Regions from separate parts of the Homo sapiens genome. Here region 2 is linked to region 1. The links are contacts of gene promoters, found by promoter capture Hi-C in blood cells and fetal thymus (Javierre and others, 2016). All regions are on one chromosome and are shown on one strand. The core of a region is centred on a gene start or on the middle of the fragment in contact, and the rest is flanking DNA. Distances in the headings are between cores, read along the strand shown. Region 1 overlaps SLC3A2 (solute carrier family 3 member 2). Region 2 holds the start of AHNAK (AHNAK nucleoprotein).

Region 1 (6,575 bases), core at 3,425-5,924:
GGGTCTTCACTCTGGCCCTAAGAATGATAAAAACATAGCAGAAGCGTGTGAGGGGCTCCCCTGGGTACAGACTTCTACAAGCCCAGCCCACCCTCCACCGGTCAGTTTCTACCCATCTAGAACTCTTACCTTCACAGTCATGTTGGCACTTACAGCCCCTGGGATGTCAGGGAAGCTGGACTCATCCCACAGCATGACTGGAGCCTCCATAGGCTGAAAAGCAGAGAAAATAGGACTTTAAAAAGGCCTGGGGTCAGGCATGGTGGCTCACATCTGTAATTCCAGCAGTCTGGGAGGTCAAGGCCAAGAGGATTGCTTGAGCCCAGGCATTTGAAACCAGCCTCAGCAACATAATGAGCCCTCATCTCTACTACAAAATTTTTAAAAATTAGCTGGGTGTAGTGTTACATCCCTATAGTCCCAGATACTGGGGAGGCTGAGGAGGGAGGATCACTTGAACCCAGGAGTTTGAGCTTGCAGTGAGCCATGACTCCACCACTGTACTCCAGCCTGGGCAACAGAGTGAGACCCTGTCTCAAAAAAAAAGCCCTGGGCCCACTGTCCCGTATCCCTCTTCCCATTCACATCCTCATCAATATATAACCTCCCCAACTCATGTCTGGCTAACTTTTTTTTTTTTTTTTTTTTGAGACGGAGTCTCGCTCTGTTCAGGCTGGAGTGCAATGGCACGATCTTGGCTTACTGCAATCTCTGCCTCCTGGGTTCAAGCGATTCTCCTGCCTCAGCCTCCCCAGTAGCTGACCATAGGTGTGCACCACCACACCCAGCTAATTTTTTTGTATTTTTAGTAAAGACGGGGTTTCACCATGTTGGCTAGGCTGGTCTCGAACTCTTGACCTCAGGTGATCCACCCACCTTGGCCTCCCAAAGTGCTGGGATTACAGGCATAAGCCACGACACCCGGCCTGGCTAACTTCTACTGGATGAGTGAGGCAGGCTCCCACCTCAGGGTCCTCACACATACACTGTTGCCCCTCAGCCAAGAGCTCCCAGATGGCTGCCAGCCAGCTCTCTCACTTCCCTCAGGTATCTGCTTGGTTATCTTACCAGGTCTCCTATGGCTACTCTCTATAAAACAAGCCCCATCATCCCCTAGTCTCTAGGCTCCTTACCCCGCCTTCTTTTGCATAGCACTGATCAGCAGCTGGCGTTTTATTTATGCATATCTAATTATCTAACCACCTCCAGCTCTCTTGTGCAATGCTGTATCCTCAGTGTAACAGACAGAAATTATTCTATAAACATCTGTGGAATAAATGAATAACTGGTTCTATAAACATCATGCTGATGGCCGGGTGCAGTGGCTCGCACCTGTAATCATAGCAGTTTGGGAGGCCAAGGTGGGAGGATCATTTGCACCCAGGAGTTTGAGAACAGCCTGGGCAACATAGTGAGACCACACCTCTACAAATTTTAAAAATTAGCTGTGGCCAGGCACAGTGGCTCACACCTGTAGTCCCAGCAATTTGGGAGATCAGGGCAGGCAGAGCGATTGAGCCCAGGAGTTGGAGACCAGCCTGGGCAACAACAGTGAAAGCCTGTCTCTACAAAAATTAGCCGGGCATGGTGGTGTGTGCCTGTATTCCCAGACCACCTGTATTCCCAGCTACTTGGGAAGCTGAGGCAGGAGTATCACTTGAACCCAAGAGGCAGAGGTTGCAGTGAGACATAATCGCACCACTGCAATCCAGCCAGATCAACAGAGCAAGAACCTGTCTCCAAAAAAAAAAAAGATCAGCTGGGCATGATGGCACGCACCTATCTATGGTACATATCCCAGCTACTCAGGAGGCTGAGGTGGGATGATCACTTCGGCCTGGGAGGCGGAGGCTGCAATGAACCAAGATCATGCCACTGCACTCCAGCCTGGGCGACATAGGGAAATGCTGTCTTAAAAACAAAAACAAAAAACAAACAAACAAACAAAAAAAAAAAGTCGGGGATCAACAGTAACCCTGTATCTAAAGCTAGTGAATGCCTTTGTAGTAGTATCCCTACCATGTATTTCTTTCTTTCTTTTCTTTTCTTTTTTTTTTTGGAGAAGGAGTCTCCCTCTGCCGCCCAGGCTAAAGTGCAGTGGCACAATCTCAGTTCACTGCAACCTCTGCCTCCAGGTTCAAGCGATTCTCTTGCCTCAGCCTCCCCAGTAGCTGGGACTACAGGCGTGCACCACCACACCTGGCTAATTTTTGTATTTTTAGTAGAGACTGGGTTTCACCCTGTTGGCTAGGCTGGTTTCGAACTCCTTACCTCCAGTGATCCACCCACCTTGGACTCCCAAAGTGCTAGGATTACAGGCATGAGCCACCGTGCCCAGCCACTGCCATGTACTTCTCCACTTATTTATCTGGCTCCCTCACTAAACTATGAGCTCCTGAGGGCACAGAGCCTAGCACAGTACCCACTGTCCAAAGAATAAAGGAATGAATAAATGAATGGTGGCTACCATAGCAAACATCTGCCAGGTACCAGGCATTACCATTAAAAACATGCCCTCATTTAATACTAACCACCCTTCAAGAAATGCAGTAACACAAGGGATGACCAAAATTCAGAAAGGTAAAATAATTTGCCCAAAGCCACATAGCCACTCAGCTACTGACTAAGAATCAAACGCGTTTTCACCCCAAGGCTCACGTCTATGTGCCGCCATCCCCAGAATCATCATTGTAAGATGGATAAACAACCTCCCTGTGACAGAAAGACAGCAAGCAGTACCTGTCCAGGAAGGGCAGCTGCATCCAGGCCAATCTCATCCCCGTAGCTGAAAACAGGGGTCCCTGGCAGGGTGAAGAGCATCAGCTGGTAGAGTCGGAGAAGTTGAGCCGGCAAGAAGGAAGTCAGGAGCCTTGCCTGAGACAACTACAGGGAGAGACACTCCAGTGAGCCCCATAACCCACCTCTGCCTCTGTCTCCCAACAACCCTTTCTTCTCCCATCTGCCCCCTTTCCCACCAGCATGGTACTCACACTCCAGCTGCACCAGCGATTGCCAGTGGCATTCAAATACTGTGTGACTAGGGATTTTGTATGCTCCCCAGTAGAACCAGAATCAGACAGGTATGAGCTAGTCAACAGCAAGTCTTTGTTGGATTCGAGTAGGCTCAGGATCTGCTGAAGGTCGGAGGAGTTAGTCCCCGCAATCAAGAGCCTGCAGAGGGGAGGGAGGAGTTCAAGGTTAGCACAAGAAAGAATGGGGCCAGGCGCAGTGGCTCACGCCTGTAATCCCAACACTTTGGGAGGCTGAGGCGGGTGGATCACTTGAGGTCAGGAGTTCGAGACTGGCTTGACCAACATGGAGAAACCCCGTCTCTACTAAAAATACAAAATTAGCCAGGTGTGGTGGCCCGCGTCTGTAATCCCAGCTACTTGGGATGCTGAGGCAGGAGAATCGCTTGAACCCAGGAGGCAGAGGTTGCAGTGAGCCAAGATCACGCCATCGCACCCCAGCCTGGGCAAAAAGAGCGGAACTCCATCTCAAAAAAAAAAAAAAAAAAAAAAAAAAAAAAAAAAAGCTAAAGAAAGAATAAAGGTAAAGAAAATGCTCTAGACTAGGAATCCCCCCTTCTTAGGCCTAGCACTCCACTGAGGGGTTCCCACATTGGAGCTGAGTCAGCAGAATGGCTCCTGCACCCACCTGTCTTCACTGAAGCCCTTGGTGATATTTTGCCACTCAGCCAAGAATGAGGATGCATCCTAGAAAGAAAAAAGCAGAATCAAGGACCAGAGAATATTATGAGGCTCTAGCTGAGTCCCTCTGTTCTCGCCCAAGCTTTGTCCCTAATGTGGAAAGGGAACTCACCTTCAGATTCTCTATGTCCCGAACCTGGAACCCATCCACGCCAGCTTGCAGCCAAAACTCCAGAGCATCCTATAGGGGGCAGAAGAATAAAGGACAGACATCAGTTCTCAGGAAAAGGCTCAGAAAATTCCAGCCCACACTAAACCTCACCCACCACACACTTCCCCGGGAGCTGGGGAGAGTCCTGTGCCTTGCCTGGGTCTTCCCCACCTGCACTACAAAGGCTTAGCCTTTGGACCCCTCCAGCTCTACCCTTCCACTCATTTTCTTAGTGCTACAGCATTTTACTTCTCATTCTTGCCTCTGGCAAATCACACAGCTTCAACTTTGAAAGCCACAGAAAAGGCCCCAGAGAAAAGGTATGTCCATAAACATAACTTCGTTTAACACTTAGCATTGGAATGTTAGCATACCTATTTTAGAGATGAAGAAACAGACCCAGAGAAGCAGGGAGACGCGTCCACAGTCATAATCAGTGAGCAGCAGACAGGATCTAAAATGTCAGTCAAGATCCCCCCTCTCCCAGTTTCCTGAGGCCTGGGGAAGGTGTGAGTACAATAACTGCTCAGAGCAAGGCCAAGGATGAAAGATTGAAATTCAAAGCATAGCCCCAGGGCAGTTTAGATTTGAAAAGAGGCCAGTGCTGCTGAATGGAATCCTGGCAGTCCTGCACACACTGTGGAACTTCACCCCCATTCTCCTTTTCTTCCCTTTCTCTGGGCCATGTACTCTCTCCTCTGGTCTCCATTTCCATCTGAGGGTACCGCCCCTCATGCCAAACCATCCAAAAACATTCCCTCATCAGCAACTTTTAAAGGGTCCCCTAGTAACTGGCAAGGCCTAAACTGGATGATCCCGGGGTCCTACCCAAATGCTGGGAGTCCAGAATTCTATCTTAGAATCACAGCTACCAGCAGTGTCAGTATCTGCTTCCATTTTTGTTCTACCCATTCTGAACAGGTCAGTGTCCTAGGACCCAGACATCAGGAGCTAGGTGACATTCAAAGCCCTACTCCTAGCCTGCTGGGTACACATTTGAACCTATGGCAAATTATATACCTTGTATGGTTATACAGAGAATTAGAAAACATCTATAAAATACTTGGCATAGAGTCCCAGACACATAGGAGTACCCCAGTGCTTATAATTTCAGACTGGGCTCTATTCCAAACACATCAAACAAGAACTGGGAAACCAGTCAGGACAGGATTCTCACAGAGAAAGGGCTTCCTCTCCCAAAAGAAAGAAAAATCAAACTTCCAGACTGACTTCTGAGAAGGTCCCTTCCTGGCACTGTCTCATCCTCAGAGTCAAGGAAATAAGAAAAATAAGAGGTCAGAAAAGGAACAAGAAAAACAGGTGTGCTATTGGCCTATCCTTTGGCTATAGGAGGAGGCATTCCTCCTTGGTCCTAAGGAGCAAAGGGACCCTCAGCTGGAGTCAGGCTGGGTCTACAGGGCTTGCTGTGAAAGGACTGTCCCAGCCCCAGCATCTGACTTCCACCAGCCATCAGCTCCAACACTCACCTTCACCTTGGTGGCCACAGTGTCAACCTGAGTGGAGAACCACGAGTTCTCACCCCGGTAGTTGGGAGTAAGGTCCAGAATGACACGGATGCCTAAAACAACGGAGGAAGACGCAATCATGAGACAGTCTATGAGTTAAGGGAAAATAAGGAAATCACAAATGCAAGTCACTGAGTGTTTCCTATGTATTACTTGGTACAAAAGCTTGAATTTGAACCCGGGCAAAATTCATTCCATTGAAACAGATGTGAGCAAGGAAGGGCCTTAAGATATGGGAAGGCAGGCCAGGCGAGTTCAAAACCAGACCGGTCAACATGTTGAAAATTGTCTCTACTAAAAATAAAAAAATTATCTGGGTGTGGTGGCACACGGCTGTAGTACCAGCTACTCAGGAGGCTGAGGCACGAGAATCGCTTGAACCCTGGGGGAGGAGGCTGCAGTAAGCTGAGATCGTTCCACTGCACTGCAGCCTGGGTGACAAGAGTGAGACTCCATCTCAAAAAAAAAAAAAGATATTGGAAGGCAGAAAGTTTATAGTGCAGAGAAGTGGCCCCTGTGTTCCCCACTCCCAAAGTGAACCTTTTTAAACATGTGTCTATATCGAGTCGTAAAACAATATTTGGGATTCCCCCCCCCCAAAAAAACCTACTGTTTTACAAGTTTAAAACCACTGGTTTAGTAAATATCTATATTTTGCAAATAAGGGCACTGAAGCCCAGAAGTTAAATGACCTGCTCAAGATTCCACAGCCAAGTAGAAAGCCCCCAGACGACTGGACAAATCCATTTTAGGCTGAAGACTAACAAATCTCCCCTCTACCTGCCCTAGGAAAACTCAGAGCCAGTTAGCAGGAAACCAGACAAAAGTTCTAGCCTACTTTTCCTCTGGCCAAGTCCTTTCTAGCTGTTTCCTTGGGAACCCCAGGATACCCACTCTTTTTTTTAGCCGATTGCAAGAGACTGTCAAAATCTTCCTTGGAGCCAAAATTGGGGTCGATCTGCAGCAAGTCAGTCTGAGCGACATCATCCTTCTGGTTCTTGTGAATTGGACCCAGCACAAGGCCCTTCACCTTCAGAGAGCTCAGGTAATCGAGACGCCCCTTCAGACCTGAAATGGGGGCTGGGTTAACAAGTGAGGCCCCTCTGAGAGGCCCCTGACCTCCCCACCCTCCCTTCTCCCAGCGCCTAAGGGTGGGACGGGGAGGGGGCAAAGGGGGAGAGAGGGAGG
Region 2 (6,701 bases), core at 1,557-4,056, 340 kb after region 1:
GATCTCAGCTTGCTGCAACCTCCACCTCCTGGGTTCAAGCGATTCTCCTGCCTCAGCCTCCCGAGTAGCTGGGACTACAGGCGCACACCACCATGCCCGGCTAATTTTTGTATTTTGAGTAGATACGGGGTTTCATCATGTTGCCCAGGCTGGTCTTGAACTCCTGACCTCAGGTGATCCGCCTGCCTCGGCCTCCCAAAGTGCTAATTTTTATATTTTTAGGAAAGACGGGGTTTCACCATGTTGGCCAGGATGGTCTCGATCTCTTGACCTCATGATCTGCCCCCGCTCAGCCTCCCAAAGTGCTGAGATTACAAGCGTGAGCCACCGCCCCCGGTCAGGATCATGGTTTTTTAGAGGGTAGGGTTGAGGTTAAGCCTTCTCTAGCCCTCCAGTCTGGAATGGGACAAGAGCCAGTCCTCAGAACTACCCCCCGACCAGGTAATCTTGACATTCATATCCCTGAATGAAGTACCTGGTCAGTGATCTCTGCTCTGGGGCTGCTTCAAAAACCAACCTCTCCCTCCTGCCTTCTTCCCTGTTGACCAAGAGGGTGGCCAGAACAAACAATGGAGCAGATAAGTTGGCTCTGAGCCTGGGACTCTGGCCTCTGCTGTTTGGATCCTGGGGGGCCGATCTAGCCCAGTCGAGGCGAAGACACAGCGTCCACGCCTTTCCGTGCTCTTCTTCCTTTTCTGCTCTAGCAGCCCCCCACGCCCCCTTAGCCCTTTTTGCAGATACCCTGTGTTTCCAACCTAGGTGTGAATCAACTCCTGTTTTAATATGCACTGGGAACATTCGCTCTTTCAAGGAACGAGATGATGATTCATTCCATAAAGTTAAAAATCCTTTGGTAAACTGTTAACAATGGTTACTTTTGGGAAGAGGGACTGTGATAGGGGAGGAGGGAGAAGTCTGTGTTTTATTGTACTTTTTTTTTTTTGAGATGGAGTCTCGCTCTGTCACCCAGGCTGGACTGCAGTGGCACGATCTTGGCTCACTGCAACCTCTGCCTCCCAAGTTTAAGGGATTCTCCTGCCTTAGCTTCCCGAGCAGCTGGGATTACAGGCTGCGCCACCATGCCCTGCTAATTTTTGTATTTTTAGTCGAGGCGGGGTTTCACTATGTTGGCCAGGCTGGTCTCGAACTCCTGAGCTCAAGTGATCCACCTGCCTTGGCTTCCCAAAGTGCTGGAATTACAGGTGTGAGGCATCGCGCCTGGCCTTGGTAATTTTTTTTTAAGTGTTCTATAGCTCAAAAGTTTTAGATTTGTTTTTTCTTTAAATAAGGTAGGTGCTAGGAAAGGGGTGCAGAACAAAATGGGGGAGCAGGTGATTCTTGGGAAAGTGTGAGTCTGTGACTGTGTGCTTGGGATGTGTTGTGGCGAGGCTGCCTCTGCCATGGGGTTGAGTCATTATCTGGGCACCTGTGTGTGTGTATTAGAGAGAGCAAGAGAAAATGCTGGTGCCCAAGTCTCCGCTTTGTGTTTTCACATGTCTCTGCCTGTCTGGATGTCTGCACATGCGGCTCCACCTTTCTGTGTCCATTATATGAGTGCCCATGTCTGTGGTTCCTCTGGCTGTCTCTTCCCTCCCCCACGGCCTGTACTCTGTGCCGGTAACTGGACCTGGACACAGCCCCCAGGGCTGGCAGCAGAGTTGACTGCTGGGTATTTTTAGCCTGTAAACATGTTTGCCATTTCAGAGGACAGGGCCGAGCTGGTCTCAGCTCCAGCCCACTCATGATCTTGCAGCAAGGAGGGCGCTCCTGCCTTGGCCAGGTCTCCTTAGTTCCCCAGCCTGGGGTCTCTCTTTCCTTAGCATTTGGGAAGGAGGGGAAACTGGCTTGGAGCGGGCAGTGGGTGGCCACCTAGGAGGGAGGATAAAAGGACTCATGAGGGAGAAGAGAAAGGGAGTGTGGAGGGGAGTGTGTAGCCAGAAGGCCCCCGCACCCCATCATTAAACGTTTAATAAAATCTCGATGTAGTTAGAAGTGGCTGTGGGAAATCGCTGTAAATTAGGAGACTCAGCGTCCCGCAAGTGGGGAGGCGGGGGCGGCGCTCAGAGAAGGAATGGGAGGCAGAGGAAGCGCTGGGGCTCTGGCTCCTGGGGGCGGGAGTCTGGAGAGGAAGGTGGGCGTCGGGTCCGCTGTCCAACGCCCGGGGTCCTCACCCCCGTATGCCCGCGGCCTGCGCAGCACCGCGGTGCGCGAGGCACTGGTGACCCCGGCTCCTGGGGGGTGGAAATCCAAGCCAGTTCTGTGCGGATATGGACGGAGGGGCCCCCAGAAAGAGAGAACGCGAGAAATGGGCGCGGCAGCACGGAGCTTGGGAACCAAGCAAGGAGGCTGGGGCCTGGGATCTGAAGTGTAGTTGCCTAAGCTGAGAGAAAACTCAAAGGTCCGGAGCAAGCTGACGGTCGCGGCTGAATCACCCAGCCACCTTCAGAGCCCCCAGGCCCTTCCTGCAAAATAAGTTGATTCGCAGTTCCAGCTGTGAGGGTGAGCCCAGGGAGCCTGCAGGAGTTTCTTGCCAATGAAGCCACACAGTGCACATGTTGGAGAGCAGGTCCAGGTCCGGGACAGGACAGGGGGCAGTGGATGCGGGGAGGGGGGGAAAGAATGTCCCCGCGTCCCCCAGCGGCCCCCCTCCCCAGCAGCCCACTCCCGGGTCCCTCCAGGGTCTGCCCCGCTCGCCAGTCCCAGCCCCGCTCCGGCCCCGCCCGGCCCCGCCCTCTCCCCACAGCTCCGGGCAGACCCGCCCGCCCGAGCCGGAGTTACAAGAGCCGCCTCCGCGCACGGGGGCCCGGCCACTCGGAGCTGCTCTGCCGCGGGGACTGCACCGCCCGCCCTGCCAGACCCGCCCGGAACGGGGCTCGTCGCCGCCAGTAGCCGCAGCACCGCAGCCTTGGGCCTCGCGCCGGCTATGGCCGTGCCCTGGGGCTGAGCCCTCAGGTAGGGGCGCCAGGCGCACCGTGGCGCCATCGGGGTCCGGGGCACCAAGGGCGGGTCGCGGGGAGGTGGGTTGCGGTGCTCCGGCAGGGCGCGTTGTTGGGGGTGTCACTGTGAGGATTCAAGCAGTTTGGAGCAAGCGGGGCCACCCGGGGCGGCGACGCGTCGCTCTCTGGGAGCGGAGTTCTGCCTCTGGAGTTGGGGCGCAAGTTGGTTAAAGTTGGAAAATCGCTCCGAAGTGCTTTGCTCCACTCTTTATTTCTCCGGAGGGCGGACTGTTGGCTCCACTGCAAGGCAGGGCGCCCCGTTCCGGGCCTGGTGGCCTCTGTCCCACCTCCTCTCCCTGCATGGGGCGGTGGCTCGGGGGCTGCTCCGTTCGTATCCCATGTTTACTGGAGGGGAAATTTCCGAGATCGCCACCGCGGCCCCCAGCGCCTCCGCGCCTCCGCGACCCCGCACCGTGCGCCCCCTCGGCTGTCCTTCCGCGCTCCCTGCACCTCTGCCCCTAACCGCGTCCCGAGTCGTCCAGGCCCCACCCTGTTCTGTACCACCAGCCCCTCAGCCTCCTCCAGCTGCCCCGCCCTAGCCTTGCCTCTCCGCGTTCCCCGCTCCAGAAAACCTTCCTCTCGGGCCGCGGAACCTGGAAGTTTGCAATGCGCCTCCCAGCGGGATGGGTGGGGAGGGGGACAAAATTAGGGAGATTCCTATGCTGAGGTGGGCGAGGAGGGGGGTGCGCTGCGGCGGCCCAGTCCTCGGGACCGCCCCTTCCCCTCCGGAGGCGGCGCTTTCCCCCCGCCCAACTCCCAAACCCGTCCGGGCGGGATGGCCCCCGCCCCAGAGCCTGGCCCGGCGCCAGCAGCCTGAGGAATGTGGTGGTTGGAGCCGGTGACTAATTCAAACCAGAACTCAGGGAGGAGTGGTGAGGGGCAAAGGGGAGGAGGAAGGGGCTGTGTGTGGGAGTTGGGGGCAGGAGCCGGGCTTGGCGTGGGAGGAGGGCTAAGCTGCGCTCGCTGGAACCCTGCGCTCCAGCGGTGCGCGCCAGGAGAGGGGGCCCGAAGCGAGGTCTCGCCTAGAGTTGGAAAGGCAGCGTGCTTAGGGTGTGTGCAGAGCTGTGTTATGTAAGGCTTTCCCATGCAAGGGGAGGGGGTGTGTGTGTGCAGTGTGCGAGGGCCTGGGCCGTCCCTGGCAGGGCTGGTCGCCCCCCAGCAGTGCCCAGGCCGGGATGTGGGGGCGCAGCCCCTTGGCGGCGCTGACCATGAGGGACTCCAGGGGCCCAAACAGGGCTGGCTGTGCCCCTTGCTGGGAGGGGTGCGGAGGGGGCAGATGGGTGTTCTCAGCTGTAGCCGAGGCCCCACAACAAGGTGGGGAACGGCTCTGGCCCCTCTGCACAATGAGGCCACTGAGGGTTGTGTGCGATGTGTGTGCTTGCCGGTTTCGCAGGGTGTGGCTCCCGCCGCGGCGACCGTGGCAGTGAGGTGCTCCCAGGGAGCGTGCGGTCGCTGCAGAGTGCCCTGCTCTGTGGAGGGGATTTGTGGAAAGGCAGTGTGGGAGCCTCCCAAGTCAGTCAGGTCCTTAGACCTCCGGAGTCTCCGGAGGAAAAGGGACCGAGATATCTACCTCTGTGTCTCCAGCACAGCGCTGGGCGCTCAGTAAATACTGGTTTCGAACCCGTCTTCATTAGAATCCAACCTCGGATTGCAGGGCTCCTGCTCTCTGCTTGCCCGTCCCAGCACAGCCTAGTGCATGGTAGGTGTTGGGTTGATTTTGTGGAATACAGTGAGGGGCTGCAGCAGTGAAGCTGAGAGTGGGGGAAGGCGTTTAAGGGCCCCTGCACCTATACTGGCTGTAATTCAGGGTAGAGATCTCGCTTTCATCCCCTCCCCGTGAGGGAAATCCCAGGGGCAGGGTGTGGCACTCACTTCCTTTCAGAAGCTGAATGGGGGGAAGCTTCCTTCTCCAGTCCTTAGGGACAGCGGGGTCACCCACCCCCCACCGCGTGGATAGTGGCCTGTGCAGAATGGGGAGGACAGGGGAGCCCCCAAGTTAGGGGCACCTCTTTGCTCTGAGCTGTGAGCTTTGGGGTGAGGGAGGGTGGGAGAGGAGCTAGGGAGGGTAAGAGTGGAGCTAGGAGAGGTCGCAGGGTTTGGGGGCTGTGGGAATGTGGGTTAGAGGGTGTCTGAGCCCCTCTCTAAAGCCTTTGTCCCTAAGAGGTTATGCACAGGGACACTGGTCAGAGAACAGGGACACATGGGGAGCCACATAAGTCATGCGGGCTGATATGGAGGCCCACAGCAGCGATTCAGGGGTCCTGGTCCGGGAACTCCTTGAGGAGCCAACCCCTCGGAGCTGAGGACTTGTGGCAGCCAGACATGGTCCAGGGCCAGGGGTGGGACACAGGGACCTGTTGAGGGAGAAGGTCCAGCGTCAGCCCAGGGTACGGAGTTGGCTGGGGGTCCCCGGAGTCATCTTAGCCCTCAGGAAGTCCTGGGGAAAGGTGGCGGTGCTGCCAGGCTGGATTCTTTTGCTCGACTTGGAATTGGCTGGTGGGTCCTGGCAGAGCCGGTCACCCTGAGCCTGAGGAGCTGGTTTGAGGGGTTGGGGCAAAGCCGTGGGGGCGGAGGGGTGTGTGGGGCTCTGGGGTGTGGTCACCACCTTCTTTAGAACTTGGGAACTGCCTGGAGACAGACAGAGAGACAGACCGGGAGAGCTAGTCCTACTCCTTATGGGAACAGTGTGGCTCTCTCCCCCACCATTCCCGAGGCCCCAAAGTTTCTCTCCCCGGAGCTGGGCTGGCACCGTGCTGTGCACGCTTAGGTTTGAGGAAGGGTGATGGCCGCTGGGGAGGATTTAGAATGTGCTGCTTGGGCGGTGGCAGTGGCAGGGATGGAGGGCCTTCTGACTTCTCTTCGTCCCCCATCGATTCATCCAGGCTGGCATTTCCCTGGGCTCAGGCCATCCGGTGGGACTCCCAAGGCTTCCTGAGCACGAGCAATTTCCAGCGTTCCTGGGTGTGCCCGAGGGAGTGTGGGGGGCACGTGGGTGGGCCACAAGAGGATTCCGAAGGAATGAAGCCCCTTTTCCTCCCTGCTGGCCTCAGTTCCCACCAGGGCTGTGGCTGAGCTGTCGCTGGCAGTCTTAGGTAGGTCACTGATAGCATTGCAGGTGTCGTCCCACTGTGGCTTTAGGTCCTTGTGACCACCATGTCACAGCTTGTCTCTGAGTGAGATGTGTGTCATTGCCTGTGAGAGAGTATCCCACTGGTTGTGAATGAAGGTCTTCCCCTTGTGGCGTGCCTGGATGTGTCACCTCTGCCTGCGTTGTCATCGGGCTTGGAGGCAGAGGATGGCAGTGGCATTCTGCTCTGGTGGTGGAGGTTTCCTGCGGGCCCGTAGGGGTTGTAGGTAAGGACTGAAGTGAGTTTCTCGGTCCTGGACATGTCCGCACGCGCAGTTTGTGTCCAGAAGCCTTTGGGAGGTTGAGGACAGCCTTGGGGGTGCAGGCCCCAGCTGAGCAGGCTAAGCAAGGCACTGCACACGGCCTGTCAGGGAGGGGCATCCTGCCCGGTCCCCCGGGGGCTGGAGCGGAGGTTCTGGGGGAAGGGGAAGTGCCTGGAGCTGATCCCGTCTACAGCTACGTGTCCTGGCGGGGCTCGGGGGTAGCTCTTCAGCGACAGAGCCGGAGCGGCCTGGCCCCACGCCCCTGCAGTAGCGTGGTCCGACCGCTGGGGGGAGAGCAAGCAGCGCCCTCCCCAG

Evidence for each region. The method cuts DNA at HindIII sites, captures the fragments that hold promoters and counts their contacts. A CHiCAGO score of 5 or more calls a contact.
Region 2: the fragment with the promoter of AHNAK here is called in contact with a fragment that was not itself captured in region 1 in 3 of 17 cell types (naive B cells, naive CD4 T cells and total CD8 T cells); the score reaches 6.2 in naive B cells.

Annotation. Positions count from the first base shown.
Region 1 is chr11:62,881,773-62,888,347 of GRCh38, reverse strand. SLC3A2 (solute carrier family 3 member 2) reads right to left here. Exons shown (of 9, transcript NM_001013251.3): 2 at 6,282-6,455; 3 at 5,349-5,440; 4 at 3,823-3,891; 5 at 3,658-3,716; 6 at 2,991-3,171; 7 at 2,740-2,883; 8 at 130-213; 9 at 1-17. Among named protein-coding and RNA genes, the nearest start is that of SLC3A2, 4.2 kb to the right of the region's middle. RefSeq lists enhancers at 6,461-6,575, 5,977-6,575. The HindIII fragment of the contact is 1,760 bases long and covers 3,795-5,554 here.
Region 2 is chr11:62,542,911-62,549,611 of GRCh38, reverse strand. It overlaps AHNAK (AHNAK nucleoprotein), which reads left to right and starts at 2,806. Exons shown (of 5, transcript NM_001620.3): 1 at 2,806-2,952. RefSeq lists enhancers at 2,169-2,699, 3,278-3,788, 3,789-4,299 and silencers at 2,655-2,824, 2,945-3,014, 3,295-3,344, 3,355-3,474, 4,005-4,134. The HindIII fragment of the contact is 5,633 bases long and covers 1-4,898 here.